3 separate regions of the Homo sapiens genome follow, and all the other regions are linked to region 2. The links are contacts of gene promoters, found by promoter capture Hi-C in human tissues and cell types (Jung and others, 2019). All regions are on one chromosome and are shown on one strand. The core of a region is centred on a gene start or on the middle of the fragment in contact, and the rest is flanking DNA. Distances in the headings are between cores, read along the strand shown.

Region 1 (2,700 bases), core at 133-2,632, 44 kb before region 2:
CTCAACAGTAAAGTGCAATTAAGAAAATCTGTGATGTGATTGATCTCTCTGTATGTGGGACACTTTTGCACTAAATAAAGTAAGTTGCTAAGGTAAATTAATGCATTTCTGACTCTCCTTTGAAATCAGACACCTTTTTTTTTCTTCCAGGTTAATTATATAAAGCAACTGCAATGATATAATGTGTAGTGACAAAATACTTTTTAAGTACAGAAGGAGGGGAGGCCAAGGCAGAACATGTAAGAAGATTTAGCTGAGACCCTTTAGTGTCTTCATAAAGGCTGTTTCAATCATATCTGTGGATACCAGGTGGCTGAGTATCTCGAGCCACCCACTGCTCTTACCGCTAGTCAGTCTTCTTGGTGATTCCAACCTTCCTAGGTGAAAGGGGCAGGTGTAGAAGGATAAAATCTTTCTCCAAAAAAAAATATGAGGGGAAAACCCTATAGCCAAGCATGTAAAACCTTGGCTCCTAAGTCTGGACCCACCCCTACTGACACATATGACTTCTAATAATTCCATCTCTCTGAAGCAAGGTGTCTTGCCCATGAAACACAGGCATTTGACCAATGTTGTCTAGATTTCTTTCTACCTCCAGAATCTTAAGTTTCTACCCAGCAGTCATCCTACTTGGAAAGAAAATTACTAATTTAGATTTCCTGTCCAAGTAATGGCATCAATCCTCCCCTCACCACAGGTCATACCAGAATAACAGCAATGTCTAGAGGGAAAATCCTCAATTTGAGCCTCTCCTGGGTCCCCCTGACAATTCAGATATATGAAGTGAAGGGAATGTGGTTAGAGTGCATTCAGGGTTTATGCACTTAACACAGAAAGCACCTGGCATGAGTACTGCCTTTTGTGACCTCCAGTGAGAACCACTGCTTAAAGCTTTGGAGACTTCTAACAGGCATTGGTCACAGGGTGTATAGCTTTTCCAGTGGTCCAGAAAACAAAACCGATTTCAGAATGGGTTGTAGATGTGCTGAGAGGTTCTAAGGGGGTAAAAACCCACAAAAATGCAGACACCAAGAATCAGTAAGGAAACAGACTATAAAACTAGGGGACTCATGGATATGAGGCAGGTCTGAAGGGAGTCTCGGTTGCCAGAATGAAGAACCATGGAAGTAGTCAGGGGGGTCTAACAGCCTCAAAGAGCAGTCAAGATACTTGAGGTTTCTGTACCTAGTTATGTGCAACGTGTCAAGGACCCTGAGTGAGCAATGGCAGAAGATTAATTGGGAAAACACTGAGAGCACAGGGAAGCGTTTAACAGAAACTACAACGCCGATACTGCCCGGAGGCAGGACCAGATGAAACAAAAAGTGATTATTAGACTCAGAAGAGAATTAAGATATGTATCTTGGGTGGACTGTACACCAAATACTCCCCCTATTTGTTACTAAAGAATCCCAGTGTTGCCCAGGGCATCAATAAGTTTTGCCAGAAATACTCAGATTCACTGCCTCCCTTGCAAGAATGAGGGTGGGGTGAGGGAGAGCAGGGTCCTGAGATACTTCTGGACCAGGTGAGGGGGAGAAAGCTGAAGCCTCCTTCTTGCAGCCATGAGGTGGTAAATGAGACGACAAAAGCCATAAGGTCAGGACGGGGGAACAGAACAGCAGGAGGAGACTGGGACTCAGGGATGTCACAGAACCACTAGACCATACCATACTTCATGCTTTAAGGGAAATGAACTGCTATTTGACTAAGCCACCTTACATGCAAACTATAATATTCAATAAGCCAAGTCACTCATTAATGACAGTATAATAACACCTCATGACTCCACGATGCTGAGGAATTGGAAAGCCTGGAAAACTCGTACAAGAGAACAGTTTCTGCTCATCCAAGGTCCGCTCACAGGAGCCAACCACAGATGTCCACCTGCTTAGAACCTCAGCACGTCTACGACCCATTCTGAAGTCGGTTTTGTTTTCTATGCCTCTTCGTAATAACATAATCTCCCTTGAGATTACACAAAATCAAACATCTTTAAGGAGCCAGATGAGCTCAGAACTTAAGACAAATGTGGCAAAATGCTCAGCAAATCCTTACTGAGTGGAGGCGCATTCATATCATTTCCATAAACAATGGAGGAAAGATAGAAAGGGACTCAGATTAGAACCATGCCAGAGTCCTGACATTTTAGATGATATTAAACCTACAAACTGGCACTTAAAAATGATGAGGAACACACAGGAGACAAGCACATGTGCCTCATGTCGCTGATTAAAGTTTGAAAGGAAGCGTTAAGACTCAGCTGTTATATATAATGCCTGAAGAATTTCAGATTAGTTGGAGGGAGACAAATAGAAAACTACTATTTTTTTTTTCTGACTCATGAAGAGGTACTGAGGCCCAAACACCTGGCTGCTGGAATAAATAAATTTCCTCTGGGCTATGTTGTATTTATTGCTTGCAGCGGGGAGCATTTGACTTCCGTATGGACTGGCCAGAGTGGATCAAGGGTGCGGCTAAGCCCAGTGATGTCCAACAAAGACACTGCAAGCAATGTCAGGCTGCTGTGTGGAAAGTACAAAAAAGAACATTTCCCCTTAGCCCAAGAGTTATTTTTACTGAGATAACCCAGACATTTACCAGAGCTTCAGTGCAGAGAAGCTGCCAGCAAAGCTTTCAGATGCAATTCACCCAGGAGGGGACTTAAGGAATCTTTCCCTTTCGATCCCAGGAGAATAT
Region 2 (2,700 bases), core at 149-2,648:
CTTCCAGAATCAGAATTTGCATTTTAACAAGGCCCCCAGGGGAATCCTGTTCACACTGAGTTTTGAGAAGCTCTGTTCTAAGATATTACTCCAATCCCCAGCAAGCCAAACCGACCACTTTCTTCACATAATCAGAACGCTCGGTTCCAGTATTTCCAGATACCAGCCATAGGAAAACACGTTGTTCTCTCATTTCCCTTTAACCTTATCTAAAGCACTCAATTTCCTCAACCCTTAAGTCGTCATCTGTAAAATGGGAGTGCTAATCCTACTTAATTTAAGATGATTAAGTTGAATAATAAATTAGAATTTGTCCTACAAATTGTGAATCATGATCGGAATATTCAATTTTATTATTACTCTGTGTCCTAACTCAATAACTGGGTTATAAACTCCTGAAAACAGGACAATCTCTTCTCTACCTCTTTCTTTATCTTCCCTGTATACTGAAATACAGCGTTCTGCCCAGCATGAGGTCGACTATTTGACATTTACAAAAATCTCTCTTGGAATCCCCCTGCCAAAAAAAAAAAAATCGAATTTCAATTTATGACTCCAAGCACAAAGAGATCCTGTCACTTTGACCTAATTCTCTGAGGTTCATCCCTCTAAATAATTGTATTGTCTCCATCTATAAAGTACTCTGTTACTATGACAACGCACACATAATTGCATGTGTAAGTAGTTGAGGGTGGCTGTGCAAGTCAGACTCCTTTCCACCAGGAAACACAGAAAACATTCTATCTTCCCAAATGTTACTCTCTCAGATTTGCACCAAGACCCTAGAAGTTTCTTAAATTTCCATATACTTTATGGACACTACAAAGCAATTCCAGGAAACACTGATACAGTAGCAAAACTACTGGGAGTGGAAATTGGATGGAGATCTGGGTCCCAGTTCAGAGTCTGACACCTGATTTGCAACATAATTAGGCACAGGGCACTCAACTATTCAGGGCCCTAAACCCTTCTATTGAAAGGGAAATGGGAGAACAATATGTGTTCCTATGGCTCAGTCCCTATAAGATTCTGTACTATTCAGAGTTGATTTTAAGTGTCACTTAACTGAAATTATCCAACAAACCTTCATGGCATGAAACATTAACACAGCTCTTTTTATATGGCATGGTTCCTATGGCTCAATCCCTATAAGATTCTGTACTATTCAGAGTTGATTTTAAAAGTCACTTAACTGAAATTATCCAACAAACCCTCGAGGACATTAAACATTAACGTGGCTCTTTTTATATGGCATGGTTCATTATCATGCCAATAAATGATTAATCGTAACTCTCTGTCTTGACCAATAATTTTGCTGGACTTTTGTGATTCACAACGTGCTCTGTGTTGTAATGCTACCTCTTGAAACTGACATCCTAGCTTTATTGTTTTTTATTACTTCCCTAAGGTGGCTTTCAAAAGAGACACCAAGTGACATATTTTTAGGAGGGGTTTAAAAGTTTGATGGGGTAGAAGTAAACGTTGCTTAACTCAACCAGCAGCAGAGCCAGGGCCCAGGGACCAGCGCTTCTGTGGACTTGGCCTTTCCAGCAGCAGACCCAGCAATGAATGATCCGAACAGCTGTGTGGACAATGCAACAGTTTGCTCTGGTGCATCCTGTGTGGTACCTGAGAGCAATTTCAATAACATCCTAAGTGTGGTCCTAAGTACGGTGCTGACCATCCTGTTGGCCTTGGTGATGTTCTCCATGGGATGCAACGTGGAAATCAAGAAATTTCTAGGGCACATAAAGCGGCCGTGGGGCATTTGTGTTGGCTTCCTCTGTCAGTTTGGAATCATGCCCCTCACAGGATTCATCCTGTCGGTGGCCTTTGACATCCTCCCGCTCCAGGCCGTAGTGGTGCTCATTATAGGATGCTGCCCTGGAGGAACTGCCTCCAATATCTTGGCCTATTGGGTCGATGGCGACATGGACCTGAGGTAAGATTATCTATACCTCTAACTACTGCAATCACCTTGGAGTAATCCTTCCAGAAGCCTATGGCATTCTGAATGTCCAACTGATTTGCCACGCATCTAAAGTATGACTAAGGAATCAAACAGGAGAGAATAAATGCATTCCCGTGCCTTCTAGCACAGCTGCTTAGCTATTGGAATTGGGGGATTTATATTTTGTGTTTGTGTTTTTAAATCTAACTCAGTTAACAGGGAGTTGCATAATTGCTGTTGATCTCTAGGAAAAGATTCAAAGCTTTTTTAAAAAAGTAATCTTTTCCAAACCACAAGCTGCAGCTGAGGAGGTTTATCCTGTTGGTAGCAGGAAAAAAAAAGCAAAATACACTTTCTTTGTAATGATGAGGAGCTCTGGGTGCAATCATAAAATAAAACTGTTTGTCAAACATTAGAACCTGTAGTGAGACAGTGGTCAACTCCATCAAATATAGCCAGTTCTTTGGGCAAACATTTTCCTGGTATAAAACCTAAGGAAGAATTTGTAAATTTGCTTCACCTCTACTGGCATTAAAAGTGGGGGAAAAAGCCTATAGCAGCTTTTTTAAAATTATGCTTACCTTACTACAAAATAAACAGAAAACGTTTTCTCCACTTCCTACAGAGTAATCTAAATTGCAATGTTTGCCCATTTCATCCCGTGCCAGTCTGAACTAGCACTGGAAAAAAAAACTAATAGAAATAAGATGAAGCATTAATGTGACTAGATTGAGAAATTTAATGCTAAA
Region 3 (2,700 bases), core at 121-2,620, 51 kb after region 2:
GGTTTGCCAAGCTTGTCTGGTCACAGACCCCCTTTGTTTACTTAATATGTCTCAGAAATAATATTCTGTAAAATGCATTTTAGAAAAATTTGCATTAAGGTCTTTATGCCTGTAATTGGATTAATGTGCTGCTCGTCCTTGCTAATGTACTTGTAATTTAACTTGAACTTCCTAGAAATATACCCTAACCCAAGGGAACAATCCCTGGAGGGAGAATCTTATACAAATGGCAGTCCCTTGAAGGAGGTGAATGGCAGAGTTTTCCCTGCCCCACAAAATGTCATAAGGAAATGCAGTCCGCCTGGCACAGATGCCGCCAGCCCCTCCATGCCTGCTCCTACTGTGAACACCTACTGGGGACCCAGGAGTCTCCGTGGCAGGGCTTTTTTCAAAATCACATTTTTATACATAAAAGCATACGGATATAAAATCCCCGAGGAGAAAATTGAAATGATACGGTTTTATCACACAATATTTTTCTGCAGCATTTATTGAAAAAGGCATTATCACATGGAATCCCTTTGAATTGCATTTTGATTTGTAATTTTATTTATTCATGGTTTTCTGATGTCAAGGTGTTGTGGGAGCTTAAAATTCTATTTTAGATCCACTTAATTGTGTTTGAAAAGATCTATGAAAACAGTTCCTGCCGTGTGACTTGTCAGTGTTATCTGTGCTCTGGGAAATGGCTCCAGCAGCTTCCTGCAGGGGTCCTGCCAACAGGCTGCATTTTTTCTCACCATCACACTCCTCTCCACAACTAGCTCAAACCAAGCCTCATAAACCCGACTGACAAACCTCACAAATATCCATCTCCCCTCCTCTACACTCAGCTCCCCCTGTTGAAATGATATTGCTCCAGTGGTTGATGATATTGCTCTGATGGTTAATCAATGCTGGATTAACCAGAGCCTCTCCTAGCCTATACTTTTGCTTCTCCTTCTCCTAAATTTGTCGTCGTCCTCCTCATTAGCCTCTCCAATGCTCCCTCTCCTATTGCATCTACTACTGCAGCATCAGCAGATAAGCCAGAAAATAAATAGTGGCAAAATTCCTTCTAAGGCAGCCTCATTTGCAATGGCAATGGGAGGGAAAATGGACAATGGCCCATGGAGGCTTCCACAAGCTCATAATTGTGTCTATTTGCTTCCTTCTCAGTCATCTAACATTCATTCATTTGTCGAAAAGAAAAATTGAGGGCCTACTTTGCTTATAACAAGATATGATGGTTAATTTTATGTGTCAACATGACTAGGCTAAGGGATGCCGAGGCAGCTGGTAAAACATGATGTCTGGGTGTGTCTGTGAGGGTGTTTCCAGAAGAGATTAGCATTTGAATTAGTAGACTAAGGAAGATCCACTCTCACCCATGTGGGTTGGCACCATCCAATCCATTGAGGGCCTGAATAGATGAAAAATGTGGAAAAGGGTCAAATTCACTCTCTGAGCTGGGACATCCATCTTCTCCTTCCCTCAGACATCGGCACTCCTGGTTATTGGGCCTTGGGACTCAGACTGGGACTTTCACCATCAGGCCCCCTGGTTCTCAGGTCTTCACACTCAGACTTAGGCTAAATTACACCACCAGTTTTTCTGGTTCTCCACCTTGCAGGTGGCAGATGGTGGGACTTCCTGGTCTCCATTATCATGTGAGACAATTCTCACAATACATTTCTTCATATGTATATATAGATATATATATATGTCTCCTATTGACTCTGTTTCTCTGAAGAATTCACATTACTACACAAGCAGATATGAAGAATCACGATCTGTAGTTATTTCTCACCCAGACTTTCAATATAGTTGGGTAAAAAACCTTATCACAAAAAAAAATTTATAATGACACAGTGGCAAAACAACAGTGCATGTGGCATATTGCTTGGATTTTATAGAATGCATTCACTTTTTTAAAAAGCTTTCTTTAACTCCTACTATGTGCCAGGTAATATGCTTGGGGCTAGCGGTGAATGAATGAAAGAAGATCCCTTGCTGTCAAGGAGCCCACTTAATGTCTAGCAAGGAAGAGGGAAAAATTAATAAGCCCCTACAGGATGGTGAGACGAATGCTTTAAAAGGAGTGTTTCAAAAGTGCTGTAGAAAAACAGAAATTCCAGCCATGTGGGGATCTAGAAAAGCTTCCCCAGGAAATACATCCTGAAGTGAATTTTGAAGTGGAGAAAAAGTCTGACATGGTTGTAAAAGGGATAAGAGCATTTAAGTGAGGAAGAGCAGGAAAAATGTTAAACAGTTCATAAGTGAGAGAGAACATGCCGAGTTTGGAGAACTGGGGCTCATTTGCCGTGGATGGGGCATTTGTTGCACATACAGGTGTCAGGAAACAATGATAGGAGAGGAGGTGCCAGTCCAACCGTGGGGGGTCTAATATGTCCTACCAAGAAATACGGACTTTATCCTTAGGTAAAGCAGAATCATCGTCACATGTTGGACAAAGAAATCATGTAATGTAATTTGAATATTACAAAAATCACTGAGGCAGAAATACAGGATGAATTTAGGCAAGAACTAATCCAGGAGCGGAGAGAATGTGAACCAAGACTGAAATGGTGAGAAATCAAGGGTGATTTCCAAATGTCTGGCTTCAGAGAGTGAGGCAGTGAGGATTCCATTTACTAAAATATGTTTGAGGGAGACTGATTTTATTGGTTGAGTTTGAGCTGAACAGATTCAGGTTTTCTA

What was found. Contacts are between HindIII fragments. The study calls those that stand out against the background at their distance.
Region 1: a contact is called between a fragment that was not itself captured here and the fragment with the promoter of SLC10A2 in region 2, in 1 of the 25 tissues and cell types used here (lymphoblastoid cells).
Region 3: a contact is called between a fragment that was not itself captured here and the fragment with the promoter of SLC10A2 in region 2, in 2 of the 25 tissues and cell types used here (lymphoblastoid cells and mesenchymal stem cells).

Annotation. Positions count from the first base shown.
Region 1 is chr13:103,108,735-103,111,434 of GRCh38, reverse strand. No RefSeq gene overlaps it. Among named protein-coding and RNA genes, the nearest start is that of SLC10A2, 44 kb to the right of the region's middle. The HindIII fragment of the contact is 5,400 bases long and covers 1-2,700 here.
Region 2 is chr13:103,065,115-103,067,814 of GRCh38, reverse strand. SLC10A2 (solute carrier family 10 member 2) reads left to right here and starts at 1,398. Exons shown (of 6, transcript NM_000452.3): 1 at 1,398-1,942. The coding sequence starts at 1,566. The HindIII fragment of the contact is 6,207 bases long and covers 1-2,592 here.
Region 3 is chr13:103,014,280-103,016,979 of GRCh38, reverse strand. No RefSeq gene overlaps it. Among named protein-coding and RNA genes, the nearest start is that of SLC10A2, 51 kb to the left of the region's middle. The HindIII fragment of the contact is 3,730 bases long and covers 1-2,700 here.